Regions from separate parts of the Homo sapiens genome. Here region 2 is linked to region 1. The links are contacts of gene promoters, found by promoter capture Hi-C in human tissues and cell types (Jung and others, 2019). All regions are on one chromosome and are shown on one strand. The core of a region is centred on a gene start or on the middle of the fragment in contact, and the rest is flanking DNA. Distances in the headings are between cores, read along the strand shown. Region 1 holds the start of KCND2 (potassium voltage-gated channel subfamily D member 2). Region 2 has its middle 700 kb from the start of ANKRD7.

What was found. Contacts are between HindIII fragments. The study calls those that stand out against the background at their distance.
Region 2: a contact is called between a fragment that was not itself captured here and the fragment with the promoter of KCND2 in region 1, in 1 of the 25 tissues and cell types used here (mesenchymal stem cells).

The regions. Positions count from the first base shown.
Region 1 is chr7:120,270,523-120,276,826 of GRCh38, reverse strand. KCND2 (potassium voltage-gated channel subfamily D member 2) reads right to left here and starts at 3,652. Exons shown (of 6, transcript NM_012281.3): 1 at 1,080-3,652. The coding sequence starts at 2,194. RefSeq lists an enhancer at 2,887-2,956 and silencers at 3,397-3,546, 4,466-4,565. The HindIII fragment of the contact is 5,227 bases long and covers 1-4,701 here.
Region 2 is chr7:118,921,460-118,926,893 of GRCh38, reverse strand. No RefSeq gene overlaps it. Among named protein-coding and RNA genes, the nearest start is that of ANKRD7, 700 kb to the right of the region's middle. The HindIII fragment of the contact is 3,752 bases long and covers 1,730-5,434 here.

The sequences.
Region 1 (6,304 bases), core at 2,403-4,902:
TCTAACCATTTTATTTTATTAGATTCTCTAATATGTAAAATGCTGCTACTTTTCTGCAGTTTAACATTATTAATCATTTGCCTCCTTTCCTTTTCTCTACTACCTAAAAAAACTTAATTCTAGCCCTAAAAGTATATTAAAAACAACAGCATGAATTCAGAAATTTGTCCCTTTGGTTGCAGAACTTCATTATACCCCCAAAAAAGAATTCACAAAAAAATTCTAAAAGGAAATTAGGACCCCAAATTTTATAATACAGCCAGCCTTGGTGACCATCAATCTTACCAGATACTGCTCTATCTTCTATGTGTATTTAATGGGTGTGGACCCATTGCCTGATGGGATCTGTAGATTCTAAAAAAAAATGTGTGGATGACAGTCTTTTGCTTCTTTTTTTGAAACTATGAACCTAGAGCTTGAAATATGTTGCAAATTTAATTCCACTGCATATTGTAGAGTTGATCAGTTTCAGCTCTGATATTCTAAAAGACTGAATAACCTATCAACCATAATTAAAGTGCATACATATGAATATGTGCATATATATTATAAAATACTTTGATAATTACATCTACAATCTATGTATTACGATGTAAAATAGGAATTATGGTTCTTAGAGGAAAAATGTACACCATAAGTATCTATTCATATGAAAATAATAGTTCAAGTATACCTGGAAACTTTTCATTTAAATGCATTGAACCACTTTATAGACATTTCAATATACATTGTATATATTTGTGTCTTTATTAGGGCATAGATTTTGTTTTTCATTGTCATATTTTTATATATTAATATAAATATTGCTACTACTTTCATATATTCAGGAATTCTAAAATTTCTTTGTATCTTTATCACTTTCAGGCATCAACATTTGCCAGCAATGCCTTAATACTTCAACGTGTGTATTATACCCATTTCACAGATGAAAAGAGTTTTGCCAAACCATTTAGATAATGCTTTCCTAAACTCAGGAAAGAAAACAAATGATTTCCCCGGAGTTACCATGTAACCTCGATGGGTCCACAATCGCCTCACCCATACCCAACCTCCATCCCATTTCCCATTATGGCACCTACCCTAGTGTTGTCATGGTGACGATGGTATACCAGAAGGCTGCAGGGATGCTGGTGAACTTGCTAGCCGAAGACCCCTTCTCTGCGTAGAACATAACTGTAGCGAAGATGATGATAGCCATGGTGAGCGAGAAAAGCAAGAAGCCCAATTCTGAGGCACAACTCTTCAGTGTGTACCCCAGGATGCGCAGGCCTTGAGAGTGGCGGGAAAACTTAAAGATCCTGAAGACCCGGAAGACTCGGAGTGTGACAAAGGCTCCGCTGACGTCCTCATTGTCTGTCATCACCAGCCCAATGTAATAAGGCAGGATGGCCACCACGTCGATGATACTCATGACACTACGCACAAAACGGTAACGACTAGGCGCTGCAGCCAGGCGAAGCAAATACTCAACTGTGAAGATCATGACGCAGGCCGTGTCCAAGCAGAAGAAGGCCACAGCATACCGCTCTCCACAGGGCAGTTCTTTAATGTGACCTGGGCTTGATCCGCACGGCACTGTTTCCACCACATTCGCGATGACAGAGACGGCAATGAAAAACCCCGTGACATAGTAGAACACCAGGGCCATCGTGCTGGTGTGGGGGTTCTCGAAGGCCCTCCAGACCCTCTGCCTTGCAGTCATGGTGGGCAAGGCGCTCTCCCCAGCGGTGTCGGTATCCGCGTCGTCCTGCAGGCGCTCGGCGTTCTCTCGCCTGCGATCCTTGTACTCCTCATAACAGCAGTCGCCGATGATTTCCGGGATGAGGCCAAAGAAGGCCAGTTCTTCATCGTAAGCAGAGATGCACTCGTGGCGAGGATAGTGGAGCTTCCCAGTGCGGTAGAAATTCAGGATGTGGCGGAAGATGTCTGGGTCACGGTCAAAGAAATACTGCTGAGTTTCTGGGTGGTAGAAAAAGTCCCTCTCAGAACTGCCCAGTAGAGTGTCTGGGTAACGTTCCAGGGTGTCCTGCCACGTCTGGAAGCGGGTGCCACTCACATTCAGCACAATGAGAGCATCTTGGGTCCTTTTCCTCTCCTGCCTCGGGGGAGCCGGCATAGGCCCCGAGGCCACAGGCATCCACCCGATAGCCGCTGCCCTTGCAAAAGGCAGCCACGCTGCCACCCCCGCCGCCATGATTACTTGAAGCGGAAGGAAGAAGGGTAACGAGGCGTCTACAATGGGTCACCGAAGCAGCCAAAAGTCACCCACTTCCTCCAGTCAAGCAAAGTACTAGTGAGAAACGTGGTCCAGAGGTGTAACTCTTATTCCAAGATAGGGCTCCTGGTAAAGTCACAGTTCTCAGAAGGGCAACTTTCCCTCCAAGACAGGTATTTGGAATAATGGCAACAAAATACAACGTCCTAACAATCACCCTCAACAGAACCCAGCCAAATCTCTTCCTGCAGGTGGGCTAGGCCACCCTCTGGCACAAATAAGCACACAGGTGCAGCCGTTTCTTCAAACAGGTGTTTTTGATTTCTCCCCGGCACAGTCTGGATAATATAGGGTCAGTATGTGGAGTGTAGGATAGAGAAGACGAACGAGAGTCACCCAATAGAATTCTTTCGACGAATTAGGGAACCCTTACACCTACCCTTCTCACTCTTTCAAACCTTCCTTTCCAAGTAGCCCTTCCCGCCAAAGGAGTCTCAAAAAGGCGACCTGTTGTTGTAGCTCAGGAGATGCGGTCACAGCCGCTGCCCCACGTCTCTCTTTGGGGGTCCAGCTGCTGCTGCCTCTACTCCTCGGGCTGTATTTGCAGAGATGGAGGTGATGTGCAGTGGTTACGGTGGGGGGCGTTAATAGAGATTCTCCTCCCCCACGTCTACAAACACCCTCTGTGTCTGCCAAAAGCGTTCGCCCAATCGCCCCTTCACTCTCTTTTCAAGTTCAGCTCAGGTGCAGTGTGACAGTTACAGAGCTCAGGAGCTGGCAGCCGCCGCCGCCGTGGCGGCAGCAGCATCTGCTTCCGCGCAGAACGCGCCGCTCCCGCGGTACATACCTGGCCAAGTGCGCGCCGGGGCTTAGTTGCATAGAGACTTTCTCCTCGCCGTGCACCCGGAAAGGGAAGAGGAGAGAAAGCAGCTCGCGAGCAGCCGAATCCGATGCGCCGAGAGAGCATAAATAAAGCTCAAGCGAGCTCTTCTTTCCCTTCCCCCATCCCTCCGTGCCTCCCTCCTCCTTTTCACCTTCCAAAAGCCAGGCGCAGGCGAGCAGAGCAGCAGCAACAAGTTCAAAAGGTGCGGGGGAGGCGAGAACGGAGGGGACTCGCTCCTGCCAACTTACTGCGGGGCCACTGTCGCGGGAGCCTGGCCAGCGCGGTGCGGGGCTGCGGGGCGGCGGGGCTGCGGGGCGGCCGGGCGGGCGGCGTTGGCGCGGTGGGGCCGGGGCCGGGGCCGGCACGGGCTCTCGTCCGAGCGCGGAGGCAGAAGGCGCTCGGCAGCGCGGGGGCGCGGGAGGGCTGCTAGCTGCTTCCCCGCCAGTGGGTGGTCCTGCATCTCCCCGGGCTCCCCGCGCTGCTCTGCTAGTGCGATCAATAAATAAGGAGAAAATAAATAAATAACCGCGCGCACGCCCCGCCACGCAGGTTAGGAAAGGCGTCTCCTGCCTTTCCCTCGGCTTGACCTTTCTCCGCCCCCGCCCCCTCGGGCTCCTCTCGCTCCACCCCAGCCACCCACCAACCCCGGCGCAAAATGTCACCGAGGGAGAGCATCCAGGTGGATCTGCTGGGGAGAAAAGCGAGCCTCGGATGAACAAAGGGAAGCTTCACGTGCTGGGCTGCGGTGGTTTGGTGGAGGAGAGGAGAAAGGGGACCCGTGCCTTGCTTCTGCCTCTCGAGTCCCGGTTCAAGGCGAGCGTGGGAAAATGGGGGGAAAGAGAGCGAGAGAAGCTGGGAAGGAGGGTGAGCGGAGCGGAATGCGCAGGAATTGGTTGTCTTCTGGGGGCGACTGGAAGGCAAGACCCGCAAAGCTCCGACGCGGAATTTTTAAGTGCATTTCCTCTTTCTGTTTTTATTTATTTTCAAAACCAGATTGTTAACGTTGCAGGGATTGATATGCCATCTGTCCAACTTGCCAAAAAATCAGAGACTCTCCTCGATCGAGGTCTTGACACAACTCCTTTTCCCGTCCTTTACGAATAACAGGGATGTGGAGCCCTTTTCTAAATGTCATCGTCAAGGGGCGTGCGTCTCTGAAAGTTTGCGTCCCCTTCATCCTCTCTGCGCATCACTGCGCATATTTAAAATAGTTAAAAGAGTTAAAGGTGTTCGTATGAGGGGTTACTGAGGTAGAGAGACACAGGAAAATTGTCGCTACCAACCTTTTTGTTTTTCGCGTACCCCGCCCCCGAGTCATTAGGAATCATCCTTAAAACCAAACGTAACACATACAAGCCACTAGATGGCGTGGATGGCGAGAAGTTAAATCTGCACCTAAGGTTTGGATGCTTTAGGAAGGTGAAGGATCAAAATTAACTGGTCCAACAGAGAGTCAGATCACATAAACATCCCCAAACCCCTTCGCTGCCACCCACCTTTTTTGTGTTTATGTGACATATACTACTTAGGCTTGAGTCTGCATTTGGATAGTTGTGGGATGAGATGTGGAGAGTTTCCTTTTGAAATTCCTTTGAAAATTAAATCTAGATTACTGAATCATCATCATCATAGTAATTAAGATCTTTGGCAATAATGAGGCTTCATCTGTATTGATGAAGAATAGTAGCCTAATTTCTACCTAAAAATTACTTTTCATGGCTTGGTTTGACTGCCCTTGGTTTGTAAAATAAGTGGACTGTGTGTTGTACTTTACGGAAATTGACTTTTAAGCCCTAGAGATTACAGGCATGATGTGTCAACCTTGAAAATTTGAAATGGGATACGTCAAAGAAAATATATAAACTAAAAAATGAGTATAGAAAATAACCAGAGAATTTAAAATATCCTTATCATGTACAGGATTTTCTGTAGAGATAAAAGGGTATTTTTTGTTTGTTTATTTGTTTACAGAATAGAGATTTAAGGAATCCTGTGTCAGTAGTAATGAAGTCAGAGCTAATGCACCATTTAAGTTTGAGGACAAGGAACTGAAGACACCTGCTCTTTATCTATTTGTTTAAGTGAAAGATGCTTGTTAACCAATCTATATAGCCTGCATACCTGAAAACAAACACACAAGCATGTTACCTGGAAAATGGAAATGAGGGGCTTACTACCAATTAATATAAGAAAACCAACCCCTCGTTAGTCCAAACAGTAAGGTGGCACTATGACAGGTGCTGGGCATGGAATCCAGAGGGTGGAGCGCCATGAATATTTAATCAATGCCAATAATGGCATGCTTTCCTGTAAAGATGGGGCGAGGAACCTAAATAGAGCCTTTAAAACTGTGTGGGAAACTGAATGCTTACAAATGTAAAAGTAGGAGCTTAACTCACAAAAGCCCCAAAGAAGCAAGAACATAATATGTACAGTTTTTAAGAAGGTACTGGGATCTGCCCTCCTGCATCTTCAACAAGCTTCTTGATATAGTGGAAAGAATGTGGGCTGAGAACTTAAACACATCTAAATTCAAAATCTTGCTTAAGAAATTACTTACTGGCTTTGTTTCATTTGGCAAATTACTTCTATGATTAGAAATTATAGATAATGAAATTTAACTTTTCAGGCCTGTCGTGAAGATGAAACAGGATCATACTTCTGAACACCAGTGAAATACTTAGCACATGAAGTGTACTCAATATTGGTTCTTTTTTATTGTAATGCATAATGCTAATGCAATTCATTTTATCCAGCCCGTATTTGGAATTCCCTTAGATACTTTCCATAGTTATGTATTGCTTAATGACAGGGATACATTCTGAGAAATGTGTCTTTAGGAGATTTCATCACTGTCTGAATATCATAGAGCGTACTTACACAAACTTAGGTGGTATAGCCTACTACACACCTATGCTATATGGTACAGCCTATTGCTCCTAGACTACAAACCTGCCATCATGTTACTGTACTGAACACTGTAAGCAATTTGTAACACAGTGGCAAGTATTTGAACCTCTAAACATATATATACACAGAAAAGTTGCAGTAAAAATACAGTATAAAATATTTTTAAGAACGGTACACCTTTATTTGGCACTTCCTATGAATGGAGCTTACAGAACTGGAAGTTTCTCTGGGTGATCAGTGAGTAAGTGGTGAATGAATGTGAAGGCATAGCACATTACTGTACACTTCTGTAGACT
Region 2 (5,434 bases), core at 2,356-4,855, 1.3 Mb after region 1:
TCCAGGGTCCCCATAAAATAAACCAACTAAAATCAAATAGATCCATGAATTAGCTAAAGAGCCTACTTGCTTTAATCAAGCAGTCTTTTAATCAGTGCCCTACAACTAAATCTTTCTAATACCCAATGTAATGTGTTTCTCCATGGACAACAAGTGCCAGCAGCTGCCAGATACATCTCTGTTTAGCTAGTAAGTAATCTAGAGCAATTCTATTATTTAGCATAACTTTCACAAGAAAATTTGAAGTCTGTTGTGTAACCATAGACTTTAGAGTATAATCTGCTATACAGCCTAATATGAGGGATACATTCCTAATCATTACCTCATTTAATCCAAACTATAGAAAAAAGGATCAAATGATGCCCTTTTAGAAGAGTGAAGACCTCTCAACAATGTTCTCTTTAACCCTTGGTATAGGTTAAGAAGGGTGGACTGATGTTCTGTTTCAGACTATGAGGCATTATATGTACCATTAAAATTTCTCACCTACATTGGGCCTTCATATTCCATTGATTAAGGGATGAGGTTATCCTTGTATAAGGCTGGCTGCAAAAACCCTTCACAAATATACGTATAACCCATGAGTGGAAAAAACAGACCTCCTTTTCACTTCTATATTTCATAGAGGTATAAGCCATGAAAAAAAAAATTAAAGATAAGAGTATCATTATAGTAGAGAAGTCTTGATCTGTGATTTTGAGAAAAAGCTGACCTCATCAAGGATGCTGTCTTCTTCTGGGGAGAAACTTCCCTGGTTAGCTTTACCTTAATGGTTCCAATGGGTGTACAGTTCAAAAAGTATGGAGGGAGCCTTCTGAGTTGTGAGATTATGAACCCAAGGTTCAAGGTCCTGAAGTTTTACTGCAGTGTGGCTAACAAGGGCAGTGTTTCTCTGATGTTCTCAGAAGATCCAAGCTTGGGGTTCTAGATTGTGAAGGGGTTAATTGTCCTCAGTCAGTGAACCAGAGAAAGCCTCCTTTATCTGGTGATAATATACTGTGGCATAATGATCTACTGTTGTAACATCAGCCCTCTAGCATGGAAAAGCTTTTATACAACCAGAAAACATGAATTAAACATGACAACTGAATGAAATCCCTCTATAAATGTTTAAATGGCCCATCAAGTAGCCGAATATACCTAAAGTTTTGATTGTCTTCCCAGGAATAAGTGTTTGACAAAGCAAACATTGGCCATAAACTATTTTAGCAATTTAGAAGTTACCACACTAATATATACATTTAATTTGGATAATTTTATCTTTTCCATGAAGAATCGTGGAATGCAGAACTTTTAATAACAAAAGTTTTAATGACTCAGGAAAACACTAATCGTAAACTCTTTTAGTAATTTAGAAGTTATCACACTAATATATATATTTAATTTGGATATTTTTTTCTTTTCCATGAAGAATCATGGAATGCAGAACTTTTAATAACAAAAGGTTTAAGGACTCAGGAAGGGCAAGGTGGTCATCCTGGTTCTTCATGAGTTCATGCTTAACACTGAACTTACGTCCTTTTGAATGCCAGTTGTTTCTCCAATTTAGGTGCATAGCACTTATAATTGATGGGTTATCATAGGTAATTTTACTGAGATCTTGTTGTTCATTGAAATTGTATATATAAACAATTTCAGTACTGGCTGATTTAGCAGGAAAATCTGGCAAAGTATTTTCCTGGTATTCTATTAATTTTTGTCTTGCTTGTGATAGCAGTTTATAAACCAGTTAATCTCTTTATTCAAGTTTCAGGAATTCTTAAAGTCCAAATAATATAATTCTAATGTGATCAAAAACCCATATTCTAGAGCGTTTCTCAGGGTCTTTTTCATCCGTTCATAAATGGACTTCCTCAAATACCCCATATTCTAGGATTTTGTGTGCTTGCAAAGTTTTCAGAAACTGCAACAGAGAGAAGCAATTAACTGTGGAAATGACTTTAAGTAGTCACAGTTAAAGACACAGTTGGCAAGGAAATTTGGTTATTTCTGTGGTCTACAATAACTTCATATAATAACCATAATTATGATTGATAGCACATATTCAAACATATCAGAATTTTAGAAATCCCATTCAATTTTGGAATGTATATTAATAACTTCATTAAAATATAATCTGAAGAAGGTTAAACATTATTTCATATTTGACAATGCACCCCATGTAAATTAATATGTCAAATAATCCTGTTTACCTCTCTTTTAAATGCTTCATGGGCCCTCTGTAACATCCCGAAGTTAGAGGTCGACAAAGACTTAGTTTTGAAGAAGAAATTTGATTTTGGGAAGCCTTTCAAATGTGTTAAAGGCTTAAAGCATTAGACCAAAATAGTATCACAAATCACCATAAAACAATAGTCATTCATTCAACCAAAGTGATAATTAAAATATTTGTAAAAGCAAATACCTATAAGCTTTGAAAAAGGACACTCAGTTTTCCAGTCAGAAGACTTAAGACAGTATAAAATAGAATCTATCTATACTTCTTTCCTCTCTTTCTTCTTCGTCTTTTTGCAGTTTACTCAAAAGACAAAAATATTTTACTGTGTCTTGTTAATACTAAAGAAAATTTTGTTCAAAACAGAAAACTAGATTTTAATGTCATATTAGTGTATCAATACTAAAACTAATTTTAATAAGACTTCATAAATAAATTTATCAAATATGTCATCTTTTGAAAACAAAATTTGCATAAGACTTTTGTTTTACATGTTTCCCTGACTTTCTATAGTCATTTTGATTTATTTTTTATTTCTTCCATTTGAAAACTTTAAATAACTTCAAACCAAAGTTTTTAACACACACTTTTGTTCTTTAATAAATTTATTCATCAAAAACATATATTGCTTTTGTTTATAGACTCTGTATACAGAATTGTTTCTTTAATATCTAGTAGTTTTTAAATCTTAGTAATCCTAGTATGTAGTGAAAACCCTAGAAAGCAATTTTGAACTGTTTTATATCAGTATTTGTGGAAAAAATATAATTTTTTAGAAAAATAGTTCTTCAAATTATTGTTTATTAACAGTCTATACATATTTAGCTTTTCTATACCATATAAAAGTAATATCAAAATACATAGATTTAGACTCATGTTTAATAATTAATATTTCAGTATCTTAACTTACAGATGAGTCAGATATTTTATGATTATTTATTACTTAACCTTTTTCCCATTTAGAAAAAAGAAGCACAGCTTGCTTGTAGCGCTCATTTAATTTTACGAAAACATGCTCCTTGAAGCTGAAGCAAATCTAACTGATTTTCAACATGACAATAAAATATAAAAACTGTTTTTGGAGTTCTTTCTAAACAGATCTGTCTAAACAGATGACATCAGAATCATCTGAATCATCAGAATGGTCTATTTTGGAAAAATTGGATTCATCAAATTAATCTTTGTCTAACAACTGTGCAAGAATGATGTTAACGTTACATGTAGTAATGCTACGTTTTCTAGGATTTGACATTTTCAGCAATTGAGAATTACTATATTTTGTATATGGAAATACCACTACTAAAAACAGAATGCTATAAATAGAATGATTTTTTTATTTGCAAAGTCAATATGCTTGAGAAATTTGAAAATAATAACAAAAGTGAGATATTTCATGGCAAAATTATCTCGGGGTAAATGCTCCAGCTACAAGCACCACTGGTGAGTATACTTGGGGTAAATGGGAAAAAGGTTAATTTAACATAACATAATTCTAAGATTTTAAATTACTGAAAAGAATGTTGATACTATGACACGGGTAGCCTCCCTAATGTCTTTCTCCAGTCATTGTACGTTTCAAGTAACCACGTGGCACCCAGGAGGACTATGAAAGTCAGGACTATAAGAACAGAAGCTGTGAAGACTATATCTGGAGGATACAACCCCTCTCAAAATAGCTAGGAGGTGAAATCAGAAAAGCAGAGAAAGAAAGGGCTAAATTTGGCTCGATTCTGGCTTATAACTGCTGGTCTAGGCACTAAGAACATGTCTCCAGATTTCGTTATGGCCACCTATCCAGAACCCTGAATCCAGCGACTGTAAACCAAAGACGTAAGTTCACAGTCAAATCAAGCAAGTATCTAATTACAATTAACTAATAATTTTGAAGCCATTTATATTGTACCAATAATTTTAAAACTAGCTTTATTAACCAACTATCACATACATATAATACATAGAGACATACAAACACACAGGAGCAGATCTCATAGCTCTCATAAAGGATTTCCATTTACCAGCTTTTAAATATTTTTTTTTCTTTTCCCCACTCGGTCTATCAGTCTTCCAGTTACCTGTTTCATTGCCATAAGCAATTGCTAACTAGGCAACAAATTTGCATTTCTAAAAGAAAAACTTTTAGATGGAACAAAAAATTTTATATTTTGTAAGCACAGACCTAAGATTTCAGGCCTAAATATTGTATCATCATTTGCTCAAACCAAGGGGAAAAAAACTGCTCAAGTAAAAGCTCGCTTAAGACAAGATGGCCAGAAAAGCACCTTAAAGAAACATATTACTTAATATGTAAATTTAAAAGACTGGTAAGATTTTTGAATATGCAATAGCAGATATCCGTAAAATTGGAGATTTCCTTGATAAATGTGAATTTCTTTTGCAAAAGAGTTTCAAGATAGCCAATTAAATTTCAGAAAGGTGTATTTTACTTTAGTAGGGTATTTTAGTTTAGTAGGGTATTCTTTTTTAACTTACATACTGTTTCTTAGCTAAAATTACTAAGTTCAGTATGCAGCCCTTCAATTAGGGACAGGAAAGCATTCTTAAGGCCTCAGGATGGATGTATCTATAAAAGAAGCAAGCCTATTCTACCTGTGAGCCTACCTTTTATAAACACCTTATCTAGGATAGCTTTCTTTCCACCTTTGGGGTGGGATACCAACTAAGCCAAAAGGTTAGTAGTTTTAATTTTTCTTATCAATCAGTTGCTTAAGCTTGTTATTTGCTTTTCATAAAGTCTTTAAATAAAAATAAAATACTTAATAAAAAATGAAATGCTTTTTGAAGCTTCTGCATATCAATACAAATCTCTAGATGAGAATAATTTGGGAGTCTTCATTTTCAAATGTACTTCTTCAGTGCTGTGTTGCTTATTTGGAATGTTCCACTGTAACTTTATATTTTAGTAAGATTTTACTGTTTCCGTAAGACTTGCTGCTTCTGGGGCCCTAATAATTATGCATGTATAAGCTAGAAGGAATTCAGATCTTCAGAAATTATGCATCCCATTTTTACTTCAAATATTGGCTTTGTCTCTCGGGTTCCCTTGATCAACTTAGCCAATGATATTTTTTCCTTACCTAAGTGATATGGTTTGACTGTGTCCCCACCCAAATCTCAACTTGAATTGTAGCTCCCAGGATTCCCATGTGTTGTGGGAGGGATCCAGGGGGAGGTAATTGAATCATGGGGGCCGGTATTTCC